2 separate regions of the Homo sapiens genome follow, and region 2 is linked to region 1. The links are contacts of gene promoters, found by promoter capture Hi-C in blood cells and fetal thymus (Javierre and others, 2016). All regions are on one chromosome and are shown on one strand. The core of a region is centred on a gene start or on the middle of the fragment in contact, and the rest is flanking DNA. Distances in the headings are between cores, read along the strand shown.

Region 1 (6,746 bases), core at 2,246-4,745:
GGGCTTACATAGAGAATAAGCATTTGAGCAGTGCTTAAGCCAACAATGGGCACAGAATTGGTGAGGCAGTTGCTAGCTGTGCCTGAAGTCCAGACAGGTCTGAGTGGATCTGGAGGCTGAAGCTAGGAAAATGGGCTTCTCACTCCCAAGAAAGGCAGAAGGGAGGGCAGGGTGGATGACAGAGTCAAAACTTCCTATACCTGCCAGGGTTTTGGTTTCTCCAGTAGGAGTTCTCATCATATATTTCATTCATTTCATCTATTTCCTGGGCTGATCGAATGAGCTCCTGGATGTTCTCCATTATCATAGGAGTAGACTCTACTTCTCGTACCCGGGGAGCAAAAGAGGAAGGGTTAGAAGATAGAGATTCAGAGTGAAACTTGGGCTCTGAGTCTGTCTGCAGCTGAGACACAGCCTCCCGTCCCTCCTTAGTCCCCTGTCCTTCTTCCTGCTTTCCCTCCTCTTCCTGTTCCTCTTCTTGCTCTTCCTGTTTCTGCCCCTCTTCCTGCTTGTGTTCTTGTGTCGGCTCCTGCCTGTGCTCCACTCCTTGCTCCTGCTTGTGCTCTGGCGCTTGCTCCTGGCCTCCCAGGGACAAGGAGGATTGTAGGAGCTCTTCCACGTTGTTGCTGAGCCTCTCAGGCCAGGGCTGGAAGGTCTGGCGTTCTGTCACTACAGCAGGGTTTAGAGAGAAGGGAGAGAGACAGTCAGGCTTCTAGCCCCTGAGTGTCTTTGTTCACAGAGGGACACACACATAAACAAAGCAGACCAAGTCACACTTATACACACAGAAAAACACAGAAAAGAACATAAGTATTAAACTAAAAGAACATTACCACGGCAACTGTAAGGCTGGTGGTATGCATCACCTTCCCACCTCCCTGGCAAGCACTCCTCCTTCCCTAACTTCCACCTCAAATACCACCATTTGTCCCTCTCCCTTAGGAAACACCAAGTATGCTGAGTAGCTAGCAGTCAATCCTTTCTAAAGTGAAGACATTAGCTTATAAAGGGCCTAGAGGTCCTTTGTAATGCAACAATGTCTCTGGAATTGGGAAAAATGGATTCAGGGCAAAATTGTAAGTAATGGCAGAAGAGATTCTGGTCCAGGAGAGCCCTAACTTGTATTCATAAAAAGCTGACACTCCTTTGTGTAAACAGCTGTCTGCTGGCGCCCCCTTCCCGCCCAACATGCTTCCCATTTCCCTGCCATGGATGCCTTACGTTGTGGGCTCTGGGAGTTGTGGGAGTAGCTGGTGGTCTCCCGGCTGCTGAGAGGGTCTCACCTGTGAAGTGGGGTGAGATGGGGGAGGTCATCGTGGTGGGTGAGACTTCAGCTGAAGCTTCTATCTCCTTGAGAGTGTTAGGTGAGAGAATAGAGACTGGCTGGGAACACAGGACTCTCTGCAGGAAGAGAAGGAAAATGGGAAAGCCTTTCCTAAAGGGCAGACTTCTGCTCCAGCTGGTTCTTCAACCCCTTTTCCAGCATGTCTTATCTCTCAGTTTCTAGGCAGGGATAAAGGGACATGGTCCCTGCTGGAACCCTCTAGACCTGAGAAAGGGTCCCTTCAGAAGATGAATCTCTGTTTGTCTGGGCCACATCCCTGCCGTCACTTTTGCATTTGACTCAAAATCACTGACCTGTTCGAAGAAACGTAAGGGCTTATCTCTTTGCCTCTTCCCATCCCTCTTCCCTACTTCTTTTTGTTTGGGTTTTGGGTTTGTTTTTTTTGTTTTTTTTTTTTGAGACGGAGTCTCACTCTGTCACCCAGGCTGGAGTGCAGTGGCGCGATCTCGGCTCACTGCAAGCCCCACCTCCCGGGTTCACGCCATTCTCCTGCCTCAGTCTCTCGAGTAGCTGGGACTACAGGCGCCTGCCACCACGCCCAGCTAATTTTTTGTATTTTTAGTAGAGACAGAGTTTCACCGTGTTAGCCAGGATGGTCTCGATCTCCTGACCTCATGATCTGCCTGCCTCGGCCTCCCAAAGTGCTGGGATTACAGGCGTGAGCCACCGCACTCGTCCCTGTTGTTGTTTTTTTTTGAGACACAGTCTTGCTCTGCCACTCAGGATAGGGTGCAGTGGCATGATCTCGGCTTACTGCAACCTTTGCCTCCCGGGTTCAAGCAATTCTCCTGCCTCAGCCTCCCGAGTAGCTGGGATTACAGGCGCCCATCACCAAGCCCGGCTATTTTTTTTTTTTTTTTTTGTATTTTTAGTAGAAACGGGGTTTCACCATGTTGGCCAGGCTGGTCTCGAACTCCTGACTTCAGGTGATCTGCCCATCTCGGGCTCCCAAAGTGCTGAGATTACAGGCATGAGCCACCATGCCCAGTCTCTTCTCTACTTTTCTTGCAGTAACAGAATTGTTCAATCTGAATATCCAAGGTGAGACTGTATTCATATATAATCTGGGTAAATGACTGGCAAAATGGCAGGGAAGGAGGAGCTAAGGATGACTCTCCTGGAACCCTTCCTCAACTCCCCACTGCTGCCGCCTCTCCCTTGGCCCTGGGGCACCAAATCCAACCTTTGTCCTGGGCCTCACCTTGGCATAGTAGACGTGGTTGGAGCAACGGTAGTGAGTGAACTGGCAGAAAGACTCAAACCAGGAGGCATAAGGGAGGTTGGAGCAGACAGCACCTGAGAAAGGGCAGGGGTGGAGAAGATGAACCCGTGGGGAGCTTGGGGTGGGGCTGTGGGCAATGGACTCCACGCCATGGGGAGGGTGGAGAGTACGAGCTCATGGTGTGGTGCCAGCCATGCCCTTCCCCGCCTCACATGAGCACAGGGGTTTTTGCCCTGAGGTTTGGGTGAACACTCTGGGTGCCTCGGTTTCCCCCCTAGTCTGGCCCTCACCATCGGGCACTAAGCCGTGGTTTTCATATTGGTCCAGCTGGACGAGTGTGGGATTCCGGCAGCCGTGGGTTGCACGGAGACGGCAGGTAGTCTCTGCCTTCCAGGTTGGAGTCAGCAGTGCGAAGAAGCGTTCGTATTCGGTAGGAGAGAGAGGGCTGCCTGGAGTGGAGGCCTGAGTCGAATCCTGGGCTGCGGCAGGTGCCAGAGGCAGGAGCAGCACTGCGGAGCGGGCGAACGGATGATGGAAGGACCGAACCCCAAAACCCGCTCCGAGACCAGGACAGACAGACCCAGACTGGCAAATTAGGAACGGGGTGAGGGTTATCCCTGCTGACCAGGGCGGGGGGAGTCTAGAGACAGAGGCAAAGGTCCGGCCGCGGGCGGGGGGAGATGGGAGTATCCCAGGACCTAGGGAGCCGACCCAGCGCGACCACCATGAGGAAGCGATCCAGAAACCGTAAAAGCAGAGCTCTCGGGAGGGAGAGGACTAGCCCGGGGAGAGTCTGTTGGAGCAGGTGTAAACCTCTCACCCTTCAGGAGTGAGGGAAGGAAGCCAGCGGCTGGCTTCCTCATGGCCGGAGAAGATCCGCCCGCGTCCCGTGGACACAAGCCGCCTCTAACGGGCCAAGCCGCAGAGAGAGCCGCAGGCGCGGGGCGGGGCGCACGCGGGCACCGCCCACGCGTCACAAAGAGCGGGCCGGGGCGGGGCCTCGACAGCCGGGCTCTCAGGGCCCTAAAGTGGCCAGAGCCCATCCAGATGGTAGGAATGGCAAACAGCTACCTTCACTTAGCGTCTTTTTCTTTTTTTTTTGAGACGGAGTCCTACTCTGTCGCCCAGGCTGGAGTGCAGTGGTGCGATCTCGGCTCACTACAACCTCGGCGTCCCAGGTTCAAGTGATTCTCCTGCCTCAGCCTCCCGAGTAGCTGGGACTATAGGTGCACGCCACCACGCCCAGCTAATTTTTGTATTTTTAGTAGAGATGGTATTTCACCATGCTGGCCAGATGGTCTCGATCTCTTGACCTTGTGATCCGCCCACCTCGGCCTCCCAAAGTGCTGGGATTACAGGCGTGAGCCACCATGCCCGGCCTAATTTTTGTATTTTTAGTAGAGACTGGGTTTCACCATGTTGGCCAGGCTGGTCTTGAACTCCTGACTTCAAATGATCTGCCCACCTCGGCCTCCCAAAGTGCTGGGATTACAGGTGTGAGCCACCGTAGCCAGCCACTTAGCATCTTTACATGCACTACCTTACGTAATTGCCATAGGAATCCCATAAGGTAGATACACTATCATTCGTTTTACAGATGAGAAATCGGGGCTTAGGGAAGCAACTCGCCCAACAAACAGGTCGTGAGGTCTAGAGCTAAGCGCAGGCAGAGATAGAATGTGCAAAACCAAGTCAAGGCCTATCTGGGTAGGAACTAGACAGGGCGCCTCCATGAGCAAAATGGGTCCAAGGGGAAAACAAGAGGGTGGCTCAGTGGTCTACGAAAGTGGTTTCCAAGGGAGAATCGAGTAAGACAGTCCACTGAGGTATGGGAGGAGAACTTTTGCTTTTGTATCTGTTTTGTGTTTAAAATGAGAAATTCCAGCCTGGGCAACAGGGCGAAACCTCGTCTCTACAAAAAGTACAAAAAATTAGCCAAGCGTGGTGGCACGTGCCTGTAGTCCCAGTTTCTTGGGGGGCTGAGATGGGAGGATCGCTTGAGCCCATGAGGCCAAGGCTGCAGTGAGGTGCAATCGGGCCACTGCTCTCCAGCCTGGGTGACAAAGTGAGACCCTGTCCCCACCCAAAAGCAAAAGTAAAAAAGAAAAATAAAACAAGAAATTGTCTTGGGCCAGACTTGGTGGCTCACGCCTGTAATCCCAGCATTTGGGAAGTCAAGGCGGGTGGATTCCTTGAGCCCAGGAGTTCCAGACCAGCCTGGGCAACATGGCGAAACCCTGTCTCTACAAAAAATACAAAAATTGTCAGGTGTGGTGGTGTGCGCCTGTTGTCCCACTTACTACTTGGGGAGGCTGAGGTAGGAGGATCACCTGAGTCTTCAGAGGTCAAGGCTGCAGTGAGCTGAGATCTCACCACTGTGCTCCAGCCTGGGTGACAAAGTGAGACCCTGTCTCAAAAATAAAATAAAATAAAATAAATTAATAAAATAGAGACCAGGCACTGTGGCTCATTCCTGGAATTCCAGCACTTTGGGAGGCCAAGGAGGGTGGATCTCTTGAGGCCAGGAGTTTGAGACCAGCCTGGCCAAAATGGTGAAACTTGGCCGGTGCGATGGCTCATGCCTGTAATCCTAGCACTTTGGGAGACCAAGGCAGGCAGATCACGAGGTCAGGAGATCAAGACCATCCTAGCTAACACGGTGAAACCCTGTCTCTACTAAAAATACAAAAAATTAGCCAGGCGTGGTGGCATGTGCCTGTAGTCCCAGCTACTCGGGAGGCTGAGGCAGGAGAATTGCTTGAACTCGGGAGATGGAGGTTGCAGTGAGCCGAAATCACGCCACTGCACTCCAGCCTGCATGACAGAGTGAGACTCCATCTCAAAAAAAAAAAAAGGGTGAAACCCAGTCTCTACTAAAAATACAAAAATTATGGCTGGTCTCAGCACAGTGCAATCTCTGCCTCCTGGGTTCAAGTGATTCTCCTGCCTCAACCTCCCAAGTAGCTAGGATTATAGGCACATGCCACCACATCTGGCTAATTTTTGTATTTTTAGTAGAGATGGGGTTTTAACATGTTGGCCAGACTGGCCTCGAACTCCGGACCTCAGGTGATCCACCCACCTCAACCTCCCAGAGTGCTGGGATTACAGGTGTGAGCCACCGCACCCAGCCTATTTATTTTTTTGAGACGGAGTCTCACTCTATCGCCCAGGCTGGAGTGCAGTGGTACAATCTCAGCTCACTGCAACCTCTGCCTCCCAGGTTCAAGCGATTCTCCTGCCTCACCCTCTCGAGTAGCTGGGATTACAGGCACCCATGACCACGCCCAGCTAATTTTTGTATTTTTGGCCGAGACCGGGTTTCGCCATGTTGGCCAGGCTAGTCTTGAACTCCTGACCTCAGGTGATCCACCTCCCTTGGCCTCCCAAAGTGTTGGGATTACAGGCGTGAGCTACCGGGCCTGGCCTACTTTAAAAAAAATTTTAAAAAATGAAAAAAAGAAATCAGCTTGGGTGCTGTGGCTCACGCCTGTAATCCCAGCACTTTGGGAGGCCAAGGCAGGCAGATCATGAGGTCAAGAGATGGAGACCATCCTGGCCAACACGGTGAAACCCTGTCTCTACTAAAAATACAAAATTAGCTGGGCGTGGTAGCATGTGCCTGTAGTCCCAGCTACTTGTAAGACTGAGGCAGGAGAATCACTTGAACCCGGAGGCGGAGACTGCAGTGAGCCAAGATCACGCCACTGCACTCCAGCCTGGCAACAGAGTGAGACTTCGCCTCAAAGGAAAAAAAAAAAGAAGTCAAGCTAATGTATAGTATAGCAGTACGTATGTATAGCACAAATACATCATTTATTGGAAATTAAGTGAAAGATGTTTTATGGAGAAAAGATGCATGATTTACAAAGTTTTGGAGACCCCCTGGTCTGAGGCCTACCCTCCAGCACCTCTGTCTTTCCCAAGTTGAGAACTTACAAGTTCTCGGACAGAGGCACCACTCTGGTTTCATGTCGTGTCCTAATTCTGGCATGCCATCCTCTCACATTGCATCCAACCCAGAGGACGCAAAATGAATGCTCAGCATGTTTACTAAAACAGTGTCTCTACAATAAACACAGCAGGCCAACATGTATAGCTTTTATTTACCTACCCAAGTTCCTTTTACATGTGAGTTATCTGCATTCCACCTTGCCCCCTCTCCCAGGATGAATCCTC
Region 2 (6,746 bases), core at 570-3,069, 45 kb after region 1:
ATTGTTCGTTGCTGTATCCTCATATCCTGGCAGTTAAGTGGTCTGTAAACTCTTGTTGTATAAATGAACTATAGTTCATTATGAACACCTAAATATGAACCCTTTTAGGAAGCCTTGCCTGATTGCTCCAACCTGTAATGGTCCCTCTGAATTCCCATAGTATTTAATACGTACCTTTTATTGATATTTTAACTATTTCATACATGTGATTCCCCAGCAAGATTGTCAGTTCCTCATGGAAGGAAATACGTTGCTTTGCTGAGCATATAGTAAATGCTGAATATGTTGTTTGAACAAGTGAATGCTGTTACAAGCGTGCACCCCGACCTGGCCAGAATCCCCCTGGGCTCAGCTCTAAGCAGAACTGAGGTCTCTCCTACTAATGGTAAGAGCCTCTTGCTGAGAAAAATAACCTTTTTTTTTTTTTTTTAAAGACAGAGTGTCACCCTGTTGCCCAGGCTGGAGTGCATTGGCGCCATCTTGGCTCACTGCAACCTCTGCCTCCTGGGTTCAAGCGATTCTCCTGCCTCAGCCTCCCTAGCAGCTGGGATGACAGTCGCCCGCCACCACACCGGGCTAATTTTTTGTATCTTTAGTGGAGTCGGGGTTTCACCATGTTGGCCAGGCTGGTCTCGAACTCCTGACCTCAACTGATCCACCTGTCTCAGCCTCCCAAAGTGCTGGGATTACAGGCGTGAGCCACCACGCCCAGCAAAAAATAACTTTAACAGAAATAATTATAATGCTCATTTTACAGATAATGAAAATAAGCCTGTAAAGGATTAAGTGATTTTTTCCCCCAAGGTCAAAGCAAGAAAGTAACAAAGTACGCCTTTAAATATTTAAATAGATGATGCATTTCATTGTAATTGTAGTTTGTATCTTTTTTAAAGTGTCTGTTCCCTTTATCACATTTTTGGGCTCAGCACTCAGTCTCTGTTGACTGAGTAGCAACAGTTGGCAGAGTAAGGATTTTAAGGGCTCAGATGTGACCAGACCTATTGCTGTGTGGGTTAGAGATTGCTGATTCAAGAAACCTTGACATCAGGGGCTGGTATTGAAAGGTGGGAACAGGAAATAGTAATAATAGCTATACGTTCTGGTTCTCCTCCTGCTCTTTTCCTATTTATGTTAACTGGGCACTTCCTGGGTCTCCGTGTCTCCGTCAGCCCTATTCCTGCCCTTGCTATAAGAAGGAAGTTTCCCAGCTACTTGGGAGGTTGAGGCAGGAGAATCACTTGAACCTGGGAGGCGAAGGTTGTGGTGAGCCAAGATTGCGCCATTGCACTCCAGCCTGGGCAACAAGAACTAAACTCCATCTCAAAAAAAAAAAAAAGAAGTTTCAAGTGCTTTGAACTCCTTAGGGAAAAGCTTTAGAACAATAAATGTGGGGCGTAGGGGGAGGAGGGCTGTTAATTTTAGCCTGGGGTTCTCCAGCTGGCATACTGTTTCCATCTTGAATCACTTCCACACCCTAAGCTGTGCCTGGGAGATCCCTCCCTCCTCCTGGGGGCTTCCCCATTCCCTGGTTTGGTCTAAGCCGCAGTGGCAAGCATTCCAGAAAAATGCTAAGAGAAGCCTGGCTGAGTCATTTGATGCACAGCTCAGGAGGCAAAGAAAGGATGGTGATGAGACGCTGGTTCCAGTGGTGGCTGTGATGTGTGACCTCGAAGAACCTTCCAGTTCCCAAAAGGACAGCATGGCCATTGTTTTTTTCTTGGCTAGTGACTCTGCTGCAGCTTTCTGAGGACCTCTCAAAGCCCCACAGTCTCTGTTTCAACTACAGGAGAGAAAAGTTAGGGCTTGCTCCCCAGGGCCTTACGACTCTTCATGGCTAACGTGACAGTGCAGTATCATTTGGGAGAATTTTTTTAGTACAGTTCAGAGTCTGGAACAGTCTCCTTCCTCCTCTGTCTTTCCTGCCTTCTGACTTTCCATGGGGAAAGGAGGACATTTAGGAAGAGGGAACAGGTGAGGATTTCCAGTACCTTGCTGGTGTATTTTAATTTATTTAAATTTAGAGAAACAGTGGTCTAATCAGGCAGTAATTAATTCCCTCTTCATTAGGGGCCTTCATGTTTGCCTTTTGCATATGGATGAGCCACGGGTCACACTGTCCCTTTGAAGAGAGATCCTTGCTGAAGGTGAGAGCCCAGTGTGCTCTCCGGCACTTGAGCTCCTTCCCCTTCTGTGCCAATGCTTCTCTTTTCTCCCCACCCTCACCTGACAAGGACTAGATTCCTGTGGGGAAAGAAGGAAAGGTTAATGAAGCTTCCTATCCCACCCTCCTTGGATCTGGATCCCTCCCTCACGGCCCACAGTGTATACCATCCATGCCTCATCCTGTACCCTCAGGTTTTATCCAGCCCGCTCTCCCATCAGCCACCTGCTGGGATATCTTCATGCCCCCAGTGAGTTGACTCCTCAGAAGCTTGTTTGCCGGGCACCTCTGCTTTGAGTTGGTTCATCAATCCTTGGCCCAGCTCTGCTTCTTTCCCTTGTAGCAGTCCTTTTCTTAGGGAGTGTGACGCCCTGAATGCACACACTGCTCTAATCCTGAGAAATACACTGCCTCTTCCTGGCACTCAGCATTATGTGCTGCACAGGCTCAGCCACACTTCCCTCAGCTCACAGTAAAGCTCCCAACACCTAAAGCACACACCTACCAACACACAGACATTCCTAACCTAGCTTGAAAGATAAATGCATGGGGGCATATCCAGTCCAGAGCAGCCCAGGCCACCCTTTTGTACACTACATCATCCCTATCCTCCCTGGGGCCACCGCATTTCCAGGGAGCAAGTGGGGCACAGATTGGGGGAGGGGGGATAGATGGGACCTGGGTGGTTACCATAGCAATAGAGCCTAGCAACAGCTGAGAGGCTGATGTGTGGGTTTTCACAGGGCTGTTACAAGAGCCAAACCTAGAAATTGGGGACTGAGAGGTGACTGATCCCAGCTGGGCAGCCTGCATTCCCTCCCCAAAAACACCCCTTGATCCCACCCCCACACCCCTGCAGTGCCTCTCTCTGAGAGGGCAGAGTAGGGAAAGCTAACGAGTTAACCACAGGGCTTCTGATTCTGCACAGCTTTTGGGGGGCAGCTGTGGGTGGGGGCAGGTTAGGGAGCAAAGCTGAAAATAAACCAAGCAGGGCAGCTTCTTTCGGATGGCTGGCTCCCTCTCATCTTTTCTCCATTGCTCCATTTTTCTCTTCTCCTTTCCCCCTTCTCCCTCCGTCTGTCTTATCAGGTCTCTCTTCCGCCTTGATCCACCTCCTATCCTTCCATGTAACTTTCCTTTTCTTCTGTCTCCCTTTTTTTGGTCTCTCTTGACCCTCCCTGGCAAGGAATAAGTGAGCCACGATTTCTATTCTAGTTTCTCTCTTGTACCACTGCTCCTCGTCAGGATGGCTCCCTTCCATTTTGTCCCAAGTTAAAGCCCCAGTTGGCCCCCAGCTCCAGGTCAGAGGAGGGCAGGTGACTTAGGTCTAGAGGGGGTCCCCACCTCATCCTGTGCCTCCTCCTAGCTGCCCACCCCTCTCCTCCTCTCTACGGGGGTCAGAAGGCAGAACCAGGGGACTCGAGTATCTTGCAAAGGCTTTATTTGAAAATTTTGAAACTTACATCCCACAGTAATTCAAGATGATCACCACAAGAAGAAGAAAGAGATAATACAAAAATATATATCACAGCCTAGGAGCCAGGGAAGAAGGGAAGGAGGAAGGTGGAAAAACCAGTGAGAAGGAGGGAAGAACCTGAGGAGGGGGAAAGGGCAGGGAAGCAAAAGGAAGGAGAGTGGAAGGAAGGAGGGAGGAAAGGAGGGGACAGGAGGGAGTCCGGGAAGGGAAGGGTAGACTTGGAGGCAGAGCTCCCGATGGCCTTGAACCAGCTGACTCCGGTCCCTGGCAGCCTAGGTGGAGTTAGGGAGGCCCAAAGGGAGGCTGGGAAGGGAGGACTGGCTCAGGGGGCTCTGAAGTCCAGAGAATGGCACACACACAGACAGCCAGGACAGACAAGACAAAAGGGACTGTAGGAGAAAGGGAAGGGCAAATGGGAGTCCCTTTCTCATGTAGTGCAGCAGGCGACTCCCCAAAACCCATCTGTCAGAAAACAGATTTTAGCAGTGGGCTGGGGGTGAAGTCTGGGGCCTCACTACCCCATTCCCAAGGGGGAGCCCTCAGGGTGATGCCGGCATCCTTGGAGTAGGATGGGGAGACAGAGAAACAAATGGTGTGGAATGGGACGAGACCATGACCGATGAGGGCCCAAGGAGCCCCCAGCTCACCTCCCACCCACCTCTGGAGCAGCACGCAGGGGCTGCGGAAACGAGGTGGGTGGGTGTTCATGAGGGAGAGAGTGAGCACGCCGCACACCACCACAACATCAGGCCGGGAAACGCACATGAGAGGTAAAGTGTGCAGGAAACGCTGACCACTGAGTGAGCTGAGCACAGAATGTGGGAAGGAGAGAGTGCAAATGTGAGACGAGAGAACATGAGAGTCAGCTGAGCGGAGCGGTATGGACGGGGAGAGGGTGCAGGAGCGTGTGCAAATGGCCTGTGAAGGTGGAGGTGAGTGTGCAAGGCTTTCATGTGAGTGCACAAGGGTGGGGACAGGGACCCGAAGTCACAGATATGTGAGGCCCCCACCTGCAGGAGGGCGAGCAGATAGGATTGCCCGTGGGGCTGGGGAGTGTTCCGGGTGGTGTGCAAGGGGCAGGAGCCAGGAGCCCCTGTGGCCCCAGCTCCCCACAGCTGCCCCACCCTCAGTGGGATGGGGGCTGTGCCGGCCCCTTGGCCTCCTGCTTGGCTGCACCCCAACATTGGGGGCATCACAGATTCACCAGGGGAATCCTGAGAGGAAGAGGGAAAGGGCACAGTCAGGAACCAAGGGGTAGGCCAGAATAGAAGGGGAAGTTCAAGACAAAGAGGGGGAATCAAGGTTAAGAGGGCAGAGTTGTCTTAGACAAGGTGGCATGAGAAAAAACCAAAGAGGGCAGAGTTGGAGTTATGGGCAGCAGAGAATAGGACACAGATCCTGAGAGACTGGGAGAAGGAAGGGTGCCTCCCAGAGAGGAGCTGGTCCAGCCCCCTTGGGAGGGCCAGGGGCTGTGGGAGGCCACGCCTGCCTCCTCACTACCCATCCAGAGGGCACCCCCACCCCAGCTCTGAAGACCTAAGTTGCCTTCCCTCTTTGCCCTCCCATCCCATTGCCCCTGCCCTCACCGGTTCAACTGGAAGGCTGGAGCCCCCTTGGGGTGGGGCATCCCAGGCCGGGGTCCCCCTCGGGGCTCCTCATGGTCAGGGGTGGGGGTAGGTGAGTCCCCGAAGGCCCCCAGCACAGTGACTCCAGCCGGGGACAGGTCTGTCAGTGGCTGCTGGCTCTCCTCCTGCCTCAGGGCACCTTGCTGCCCTGAGGGTCTGCGTCGCTTCTGGCTGCGGTCCCAGCTGGGGTACCAGAGGAAAAGAGGTTCTCTTGCACACTCAAGTAGCCCCCATCCTGGGCCTGCACCAGTGGTCACCCCCAGCCTCGCCCAGTCACTCCCAACATCTTATAGCAGAGAAACTGGCCTTTAACAGTTCTCTCTACTAAATCCCCTGGGACTCTGTGCCCATAAAGCCACTTCCCCTGCCCTCTAGGGGAGCTTGGTAATCTAAACCTCCTTACCCTCCAAACCTGATCCAGATCGACAAAATTAATATCCCCTCCCCACCACCACAATGTCCTCTCCCCTACATGCCCAGAAGAGTCATTTCTGTCTTCAGCAGACAACTGGCAGGTTTAGTTCTAGTTCAAAGCAAGCTGATGACTTGGACACCTGAGTCTAATGATTCTCTCAGTAAAGTGTGAAGGACTGAGTGATCCATTATTAAATGTGTGCAAAGAAAGCTCCAGGTTTTCTTGCTCCCCCCAGGCAACCCTAAGAAGGGCTCTGCAGACTGGGTCAGCTTTCTCTGTCTTGGAGGAAGTAGGGGCAGGGGAGGCTCACCAGGAATGCACAGGAATAATTCCCCTGCCCTCCCTTATCCTTGTATTTCCCTGGGAGACAGAATCTGCCCTGATTTCTCACCGTCTTCCCCCAGCCAAATCCTTAATTATCTTTTCCCAAGGTCTTGCCTTCATCCAGCATTTCCCACCCACCCCCCAGCAAAATTGCTGCCACTGCCCCTCGTGGTTAGAGCCTCGACTGCCAAACATTCCGTCCCCATCCACCAGCACCTTCCTCCTCCCAGCTTACCAGAACTTGAAGATGATGCCAGTGGCCACGAGAACAATGATGATGGAGATGGTAATTGTGACATAGAGCTGGGGGTCCACACCTGATTGGGGTGGGAAGAAAGTTTTAGGGAGCCCCGAGGTGGTAGGAGCCAAGAGGGGCTGGGGGCTGGGCTGTGGGCTCTGTCGGCTGGAGTGGCATTGCTGTGTGGATCCACACTGCCGGCTCTGTCTGCCCCTCTGGAGCCTCACTCTTTATTATCACCAGCATTCCCCTGAGTTTTCAGCTCTTTTCCTCCACTTTCCCAAATGTATTTCACCAAATCTTATGTGTATATGTGATGAGGATGAGGCCCCATGATCAGCGAGAACCTATCACTATGCCTGGAAACTAAGGGGTGGAGATGTCCTAGTCTCTGCCATGGCCCAACTCCCAAACCACAGGCCCTGTTCCTCCATCAGCACTCCCTGAGCCAAGACATCTCCCGGGTAGTGCCCTTCATTCATGGCATTCTCTGCCCAGAATACTCC

What was found. The method cuts DNA at HindIII sites, captures the fragments that hold promoters and counts their contacts. A CHiCAGO score of 5 or more calls a contact.
Region 2: a fragment that was not itself captured here is called in contact with the fragment with the promoter of ACRBP in region 1 in 16 of 17 cell types (naive CD4 T cells, activated CD4 T cells, naive CD8 T cells and 13 more); the score reaches 20.8 in naive CD4 T cells.

The regions. Positions count from the first base shown.
Region 1 is chr12:6,643,937-6,650,682 of GRCh38, forward strand. It overlaps ACRBP (acrosin binding protein), which reads right to left and starts at 3,496. Exons shown (of 10, transcript NM_032489.3): 1 at 3,388-3,496; 2 at 2,858-3,076; 3 at 2,547-2,641; 4 at 1,284-1,401; 5 at 201-669. The coding sequence starts at 3,430. ING4 (inhibitor of growth family member 4) reads right to left here. Exons shown (of 8, transcript NM_016162.4): 8 at 6,365-6,746. RefSeq lists enhancers at 2,917-3,430, 3,354-3,423. The HindIII fragment of the contact is 16,958 bases long and covers 1,339-6,746 here.
Region 2 is chr12:6,690,206-6,696,951 of GRCh38, forward strand. It overlaps PIANP (PILR alpha associated neural protein), which reads right to left. Exons shown (of 5, transcript NM_001244014.2): 4 at 6,238-6,319; 5 at 3,586-5,446. The coding sequence ends at 5,221. Among named protein-coding and RNA genes, the nearest start is that of ZNF384, 4.2 kb to the left of the region's middle. RefSeq lists an enhancer at 6,577-6,686. The HindIII fragment of the contact is 900 bases long and covers 1,370-2,269 here.